Linked DNA regions of Homo sapiens: region 2 is linked to region 1. The links are contacts of gene promoters, found by promoter capture Hi-C in blood cells and fetal thymus (Javierre and others, 2016). All regions are on one chromosome and are shown on one strand. The core of a region is centred on a gene start or on the middle of the fragment in contact, and the rest is flanking DNA. Distances in the headings are between cores, read along the strand shown. Region 1 holds the start of DOCK7 (dedicator of cytokinesis 7). Region 2 overlaps DOCK7 (dedicator of cytokinesis 7).

Region 1 (4,428 bases), core at 1,146-3,645:
CGTTCCATATCTTTTCCTGACATTGAAACCCTGTGGGGCAGGGATACCAGCCAACATGACTTGGTCTGTGACTGCCAGCTCTTCCCCAGAGGTAGGGGGTCACCCTTCCTGCTTAGAGTGTTCCCCAGACTCTGAATTACCCTGCTTACAGCGTGATCCTGCTTGTCCTCTTCCTGCTCTAAATGTTTCCAGTAAGCTGCAGAGTACATGCAAAGTCCTTTCAGACACTTTGGCAACTAGTGAGTCATGTATACAAAGAACTATTCAAAGCAAAATGTGGCCAGTTCTCTAAGAGAGTAGTGAAAAGATGTTTGGAGAACAGAGATAAAGGCATGCAACATCTGGCTGGGAGTATGAGAGCAGACAACCAATTCAGGGACTATCAAACACCCAGGACAAGCTTAAGTATAGGATGAATAATGACAGTAACAGTGATAATAATAACAACAGCTGACACACATCGTACTTACCATGAACCAGGCCCTGTTCTAAGAACTTTATATTAATCAATTCAATAAATCTTCACAACACCCTTTCAAGTAGATATAATTATTTTCCTCCTTTTAGAGATGAAGTTAAGTAGCTTGCCTAAGGTTACAGAGTAAGAAAGTGGCAAAATAAGTCTGGGTTCCTATCACAGAGGGTCTTAAAAGCCAGGTACAGTGATAGCCTTGACTTACAGTCTGTGAGTACCTGGTTCATCTTTCCCAATGGACTCAAACATTCTGAGAGCAGGTCTGTGTCTAGTTCACCTTCGTGTTTTTTAGAACACCTAGGTGGGCTCTATACTTAGGTAGAAGCCAAATATCTGTCCTCTTTGAATAGACTATCTTTTCCTTTAGTAAACAAGCATCTGAAAACAGTGTGTTACTGGAGGGCGCCTTGGCAAGAGCCTGTGGTACTAGCTACTCCTCCAGAGGCTGAGGCAAGAGGATTGCTTGAGCCTAGGAGTTTTAGGCTGCAGTGCCCTATGCATTCCATGCTTGAGCAACACAGGGGGATTCTGTCTAAAATAAATAAATCAATAAATAAAAGCAGTGTGTTACTGCAATGAGCATTGTTATATAAATACACAGTCTTCCACAGAAGTTACAGCACTAGACAGGAAGTTATGGATCTGACTAATTGAGGCTTTCACCTCTGACTCAGTGTGTGACTCTGGCAAGTGACCTAATGGCTCCAAGCTACAGATTTTCCAATGGTAAAAGAGAGGAAAACAGGTATCCAACATATTCCACCAGGACATACTGAGAATATAATAATAACAATAAATAAATACACATTTTAAGTTCTTGCAATACTTAAGAGGAAAGGTACTACAAGAAACCAAGATATTTTTCTTAGTGTCACCATAATTTCAGTATCAACAGATATGCATTAGGAGCCAAATATTCTAGACATTATGGGATTACAACAGAACAGATGAAAACAAATCTCTGCTAGTCTCTGTTTTATAGGCTATTATGGACAAGGTCAGTTTCAGTGGTCAACACAGAGCTTATTTAACAGAACATCAAAATGGGGGTGAACGTTAGAGCTCACCTGGATTTTATATATATATATATATATATATATATATATATATATATATATATATATATGTATGTATGAGAGACAGAGAGAGATCCAAAAGGGGTTAATAATACGGAAACAACTGTCCTCAAAGAAAAGAACCGGCTCTGGGTTTGAGTCTCAGTGGAAGAGTTTACCATCTGTGCGACCTGGGGCCAGTCACTTAGCTTTTCCAAGCCAATTTCCTTCCCTCTAAAATAGTGATAGTAACGATCTACTTCAAAGCGCTCGTGCTTGAAAAACTTTAATCCAGTGGCTGGCTAAGCACCAGAAGTCAACTATTACTATTGTTATCGCTGCAGGAGCAAGGTATTTTCTGGCTCTTTCTCTATAAGAAAAACCACTGTTTCTCCAGTTAGGCTGCATTCATGAGGCCGAAGCAGAAACCCAAGTGCTTTAAAAAGCTCGGAGACCGGTGCTGCAGAAACATGAACCCAGTCATCCAGGGCTTTGGTTAAAGCACAGCCCCCTCGGCAAAGCCCACCTTTCATTTCCTTCCCTTCCATTTCGGGAAAGCCAAGCTCCCCCTACGCGTTCGGTTATCTTATTTTCTTGCCTCGCCAGGTCGCTGGCCTGTCTCTGGCTTCTCTCCGCGACCTCTCGGTCGTGCAGGCTCCGCGGCAGCGAAGCGGCTGGGGCTGGCGCCTCGCTTCCTCAGCGCTCCATTCTTCCCCTCGGCTCCCGCCGGCCGCAGCCGCCTTCCGCAGCCGGGGTTCCCGCCGGGATTGACGCGCTGGGGGAGGAGCGGTTTCTCGTTGCGCGCCTCTAAGGAACATTACGGCAGGGCTCGTTCCTGGCTCCGGCCGCCAGCCCCAGCCTCCCAGGTCCGGAGCCCGGACTGGCGGAGGCCGCGAGGGAGGGAGCACGAGCGAGGAGGCACGCGCCCGCCGGTCCGCACCCGGCCCGCCGCAGCCGCCGCCGCCGTCGCCGTCGCCGCAGCAGCCATGGCCGAGCGCCGCGCCTTCGCCCAGAAGATCAGCAGGTAAATATCCGGCGTGGGGCGCGCCGCCGCCGCCGCCCGAGAAAGAGCCGCGGAGTCCTCCCAGGCCTGGCCTAGGAGGCGGGTGGGTGTGGCGGGGCCGGCACCGGGATCCCGCGGCCTGGCTCGCGGCGGGGCGGAAGGGGTTCGGGGTGGCTGAGGGGGTAGCGGAGGCCTCGCGCCGCCCTCGAACCCCGGCCTTCAGCCCGCGCCCGCCGCTGAGCCTCGGCAGGGAGCGGAGAGGGCCGCGGACTCCAGCGCGCCCGCCTCCTCCTGCTCCTCGGCGGCCCGGGCCTGGACTTCTGCGGAGGTTTATGGAAGGGCGGTCGGCCGCTTCCCAAATTCTTTGTGTTCCCACCCCCGGGCTCGTCGGGGGCCGCCGCGGCGTTTCGCCCCCTCCCGTCTCTCCGCCCACCCCTCTTGGCCCCTAGAGGGTGCGGGGTCCGCCCTCCTCCACCCCAACAAAAGGAGAAACGCGCGGCGGCTCGGGGCGGGTGGGAGGCCGCCCCTCCTTCACGCGTCTCTCTCTTCCTGAGAAATCTGACAGGAACCCTCTTTGCACCCTCGGGCCAGGTTCAAAGTGGACTTGTGCGTCCAGGATTGAAAACGTGTGGACAGAATGAAAAGTTGAGAGCTGCGGGCTGCACCTTCGGTGTGCAGCTGCCGAATCCCTGACGGATTGCAGGCTGAAGCTTGTTCTGAGTTCGCCTGTGAATTTAACTGTGCGCCTGTGTTTCTCAGAGCACCCGAGAAGATGGATGATAGGCAGTGTTCTTTATACACTGACATCCTTTTATATGTTAGCAGTCTTGAAGTAAAGCAAGTGATTGCAGTCTTGAAGTAAAGCAAGTGATTGAGGTGGAGGTTTCAAAGCCTTTCACCTACTTGTGGTGGTTGGTTGCCACCTTTCTCCCACCCGCCAAATAAAAATTAAATGACAGAGGACTCTAATATTTGTAGAATTTCTTTGTGGAGTATACTTATGTATGAGACAGTAGACATTTTTGTTTTAATAAAATCATATTTGTGTGAATTATGATGTCCCAAGAAAAGAAGCATTCATATTAAATTACCTTTTTTTGTTTTGGGGCAGTTGTAGTTCTGTGGCTCTGAGTCTTTTTAGTTTGCTGACATTTCTTTAAAAATTTTGGGCCGGATGCAGTGGCTCAGGCCTGTAATCCCAGCAGTTTGGGAGGCCGAGGCAGGAGGATCGCTTGAGGCCAGGAGTTCAAGACCAGCCTGGGCAACATAGCGAGTCCCCCCCACCCCATCTCTGCAAAAAAATTAGCCAGGTGTGGTGTTGCACCTGTCGTCCTAGCTGCTTTCGAGGCAGAGGCTTTTTTTTTTCTTTCTTTCCAGCGTTCTAGCACTTTTTTTTTCCTGAAGGGGCAAAATAGCAAGTGTTTAAGAGCATGGGCTCTACTCTCAGACCCCGACATGGGTTCAAATCCTGATTGGTATTTTCTAGCTTGGGACTTTGGCCAAGTTGTTGGGCCAAATTTCCGTTTCCTCGTCTGGCAAATGAGAATAATAATAGGACCCAGCTCATAGTGTTGTTGTGAACATTAAGTGGCATAATTTGTGTAATGTGCGTAGGATAGTACAGGGCCTATACTACCTGTCATCAAACACTTGTAGTAATTAGTTTCTCCCAGGGAGTTATGATGACAGGAAATTTTTTTTTTTTGTAAAATAATTAGGTCTTACTTCTGATGATGATGTCATTAAAAAATGTTATTACTGGCCGGGCGCGGTGGCTCACGCCTGTAATCCCAGCACTTTGGGAGGCCGAGGCGGGTGGATCATGAGGTCAGGAGATCGAGACCATCCTGGCTAACAAGGTGAAACCCCGTCTCTACTAAAAAAAAAAAATACAA
Region 2 (4,497 bases), core at 5-2,504, 150 kb after region 1:
AGTATATGATCCCCGTGCTATAAGACTCAATACCAGAAGCAAAAATCCATTTTAATTTGTACTGTGTTGCAAAGTATGAAATTTGTTATACCTTAGCTGAATTAGGTTTTGCTTACTTAAGACTAGTTGCTTGATAGCTAATACTGCATGATATCTCAAAATATACTTCTCATCTGTGTTGGCTTTGGAGGGAAATCCTGTTCCTAAATAAAATTTTTAATTCCATTTCTAATATTGTAAATGATTTATATTTGATTTAGTATATGACAAACCTGAATAGTAGTTTTTGATAATAATGAAAAAGTGAAAGAAATTATTCTAAACTTTTTCTTTTCTTTAATATAAAGTTACTGATTTCTTTTTTGGTCTGAGACCAGTTGAGAAGTATGTTTTTACTTTTTATATATTTTTACTAGATATGTGCATGTATATAGATCACACAGATAAAAGTTTCATTCTTTGCAACACTCTGAATATTATATAATCACTGAAATACTCATCATTTTTTAAAGACCAAAAATATATAGAAGCCATTTTGATACTACTTATGCATTGTCATTAAAGCAGCTTAACATGGTGAAAATGAGATGAGCAATAAAATAGATGGTTTTTGAAACCATAATAAAACTCTGTTTTAAACTTGTACATAATCCATCAGCTGCAAAGTCATCCACTGCAAACGTTAATGTTATCTCGTCATTCATTCATCTTCACTCCATAGGCTATGGATCGAAGTTGTAATCGTATGTCTTCGCACACAGAGACGTCAAGTTTCTTACAAACATTAACGGGACGCTTACCAACTAAAAAGGTAGATTCATATGAAGACAATTCATAGAGGGGGAAAATAATTTCACCAATTAAATAGATGTAAGATTTCTTTACATAACCAGTATGAGATACTTACAGTAATTGCATTGTGCTTAAAAATATATCTGAACAAGCATTGCTTGTCTGATGCCTTTTGGGGCATATCTTGTCAATGTATACTTTTTTACATTATGATAATGTTTATATCTTTGGGATTGACTATTTTTAGGATTTAGTGAATTCAAATTTGATCATCAAATTTTAGTACCAAAAAAATGTATCAACTCTTAATTCTGTTTCTGTAACTGCTTCTGTTTTGTGTTTTAAATCTCCAGGGAAAGGAAGATGAGTTAGAAAAATTGTCACTCTTAGTAAGATATGTTGATTTGCTTCCCTTATGCACAGTTTTGTTAGTCCTTTTTCATATTAATATACACTACTTTGCAAATGCTTTGTATGCATATCCATTATAAGGCAGAAATCTTCTGCTATTTTTTTTTAAAAAGACCTTACCTGAAAACTTGAAAATTAATGGCTCATAGCAAAGTTTAAATTTTAAAATGTATTTCCTAAATTGTACCAGCAAAGTTCATGCATGTATTTGCGTATGTTTAAAAATGTACTTAAGATACAAACAAAATATTACTGTACTATAAGTTTTTAGTCTAGTTTCTGTTTGCAGGTACAATTTAGGAGGCTATCTTCTACCTGTCCTTTTAAAATTACATTTTACTGCAAGATAACATGTAATTTTTTCAGCTGTTCCACATACCACTGTCTTACATACATAAATAGCCGTTTCGTTAATGGGTGTCTTCAGTGCATCATTGAATGGTTCACGTGCCTTATTTTGCTTATTCTCATTATATCTTCGTTTGTATTTGCATTATGATTTGGTTTATGTTATCAGCAGATTTGACTTTGATAATAACTTTGGATTTACTTCTGGATAGCTTTTTCACGAGGAGCTGGCTTTGCAGTGGGTTGTTTGCAGTGGCAGCGTTCGGGAATCAGCTTTGCAACAAGCCTGGTTCTTTTTTGAATTAATGGTGAGCAAAAACTGAGCATGTTCTTTAATATTTTTTCTCTTAGTGAACAATTTTATGCTAGCTCATTTGTTACCTTAGAAATCTTTTTCTGTTGCACATCTTAACGCTTTTCCATGTGCCTCTAAGACAAAATTACATGTGTTACATCTCTAAATAAACACTGTGGACACTCAACACAGTTTAGGTGGAATTAAGAGTGAGGCTCATTTTAACTCTTATTTTCTCAGGGATGGTTGCATAAGCTAGCTATATTTTCAAAGGAAACTTGTGATACATTCTTTGCTAGTCATTATACATGAAGTGTATAATGACAGTATTGTAGATTTTATACCAAAGATGGAAAGAGCTTTATAGATACCCACTGCTATTGTTATGGCTAGTAAACCCTTAGGGAAATGCCAGTTACAATCAATAAAAAAACAACAGTACTGGCTGGGTGCAGTGGCTCACACCTGTAATCTCAGCACTTTAGAAGGCCGAGGCAGGAGGATCACTTGAGATCAGGAGTTTGAGACCAGCCTGGGCAACATAGCAAGAGCCCATATCTACCAAAAAAATTTTTTTTTAAATTAGCTAAACCTGGTGGCACAAACCTGTAGTTCCATCTACTTGGAAGGCTGAGGAGGGAGGCTTGCTTGAGCCCAGAAGTTCAAGGCTGCAGTCAGCTATGATCACCACTGCACTCCGCATGGATAACAGAGCAAGATCCTGTCTCTTTAAATTTTTTAAGTACTTTTTGCTTAATCAAATAAGTGACACTTTTAAAATGAGTGAATTAATATTTCAATTAATAAATACATATATATGAACAGTTGACCCTTGAACAACTTGGGGTTTAGGGGAACCGACTCCCCCACACAGTCAAAATCTGCATATAACTTCTGACTCACCTAAAACTTAACTACTAATAGCCTACTGCTGACCAGATGCCTTACTGGTAACATAATCATATTTTGTATGTTATTCATATTATATACTGTGTTCTTAGAATAAGCTAGCGAAAAGAAAATGTTATTAAGAAAATTATAAGGAAGTTAAAATATATTTGCTCTTCATTAATTGGAAGTGGATCATCATAAATGTCTCCATCCTCATTGTCTTCACATTGAATAGGCTGAAGAGGAGGGGTTGGTTTTGCTGTCTCAGGAGTGGCAGAGGTGGGAGAAAACCTACATATAAGTGGACTCATGCAGTTCAAACCCATGCTGTTCAAGGGTCACCTGTACATATAAACTTGTATATGTAAACACACACATATGTAAACAAAGGCAACAAACATTACAAACATTTATCAAGTGGGCACAATATGCCAGTACTGCCCTGTGGCCTAGGTATTACTAAGGCACAGAGAAGTTAAGTAACTTGTCTTAGAATGCACAGCTTGTAGGTAGCAGGACTGTAATTAAAACTCAGGCATTTCAGCACTTGGGACCGTCTTCTTCACCTTCGTCTTCAGCCTCTATAAAGCTGAAATCACTGAAACTTTTTCTTCCAAAAAAGAAGTATGTAAAAAAATATAAAACAAAACAACAAAAAAGAGAAAAGGATCTTCCAGAGTATGTCATAGGGTGGTCCTCAGCATTGAATGTTACCTATATTATGGGTAAGAAAACATTTCTTCTAGAGATTTAATAATCTACAGAAAAAATAAATCAGGGACTATATATAAGTGACAATTCATTTTTTTCCTAGAAAATAAACCTTAAATTCGTAATTCATGTACATCTCTGCTCCTGTAAGGTAAAAATTGTAATTTTCACCGTTTTTTAGTAGTCTTACATATATGTTCAGGTTTCTAAAATACAAAATAGTCAAAAGACTGCAATTTAAAACTTGGCTGTGCTCTATATTAAGTTTAGGACTTTAGCTTCAATTTCCCTGAATTTAAAGTTTAAAATTCTTTGTTACCATTACCACAGTGTTATAATAAAGAATCTGCACAATATTCAGTACAAATACAATACAATATAGTCCTCATATTTATTGTATTCCCACTATATGCTATCATCTGTGTATTAGCTACTGAGGACACTATAGTGAAGACAGGGTTTCTAACCTTTCAAAGCTTAGAATTTGGGAGCTTTGGAATGGCAAAATTATTGAGTCTTGGAAAAATTTAATTAAACTTTTTTTGGCTGGATGTGATAGATTACATGCCTGTAATCCCAACATTTTGAGAGGCCGAGGCAGAGGAAACACTTGAGGCCAGGAGTTTGAGACCAGCCTGGGCAACACAGCCAGACCCTGTCTCTATAAAATTTTTAAAATTAGCTGGGCATGGTAGTGTGCACCTGTAGTCCTAGCTACTCAGGAGGCTGAGGCAGGCAAATCACATGAGCCCAGGAGTTGGAGGCTGCAGTGAGCTGTGATCATGCCACTGTACTCCAGCCTGTGTGACAGAGTGAGACCCTGTTTTTTTATTGGAAAAAAAAAAAAAATTTAAAGGTTGAAATTTTTTTTTGTTGACATACACAGAATTTTTTTGTCCTATTGTTAGCTAGCATAATTTTCTGAAAGTAATATGGTGGTTTTTTTATTTTATTTTAAGCAAATACAAAACATTGTAGGGAACTTTAAAAAATATTTGAGAAGCTAAAAATATTTCAGTCATCTATTAAATTACATGCCATATTTTAAA

What was found. Contacts are between HindIII fragments. The CHiCAGO score rates a contact against its expected background, and 5 or more counts as called.
Region 2: a fragment that was not itself captured here is called in contact with the fragment with the promoter of DOCK7 in region 1 in 1 of 17 cell types (megakaryocytes); the score reaches 6.2 in megakaryocytes.

Annotation. Positions count from the first base shown.
Region 1 is chr1:62,686,353-62,690,780 of GRCh38, reverse strand. DOCK7 (dedicator of cytokinesis 7) reads left to right here and starts at 2,395. Exons shown (of 50, transcript NM_001367561.1): 1 at 2,395-2,554. The coding sequence starts at 2,517. DOCK7-DT (DOCK7 divergent transcript) reads right to left here and starts at 2,299. Exons shown (of 2, transcript NR_185999.1): 1 at 2,129-2,299. RefSeq lists an enhancer at 989-1,283 and a silencer at 2,293-3,042. The HindIII fragment of the contact is 2,843 bases long and covers 403-3,245 here.
Region 2 is chr1:62,539,970-62,544,466 of GRCh38, reverse strand. It overlaps DOCK7 (dedicator of cytokinesis 7), which reads left to right. Exons shown (of 50, transcript NM_001367561.1): 24 at 722-811; 25 at 1,764-1,859. Among named protein-coding and RNA genes, the nearest start is that of ANGPTL3, 55 kb to the left of the region's middle. The HindIII fragment of the contact is 5,345 bases long and covers 1-3,926 here.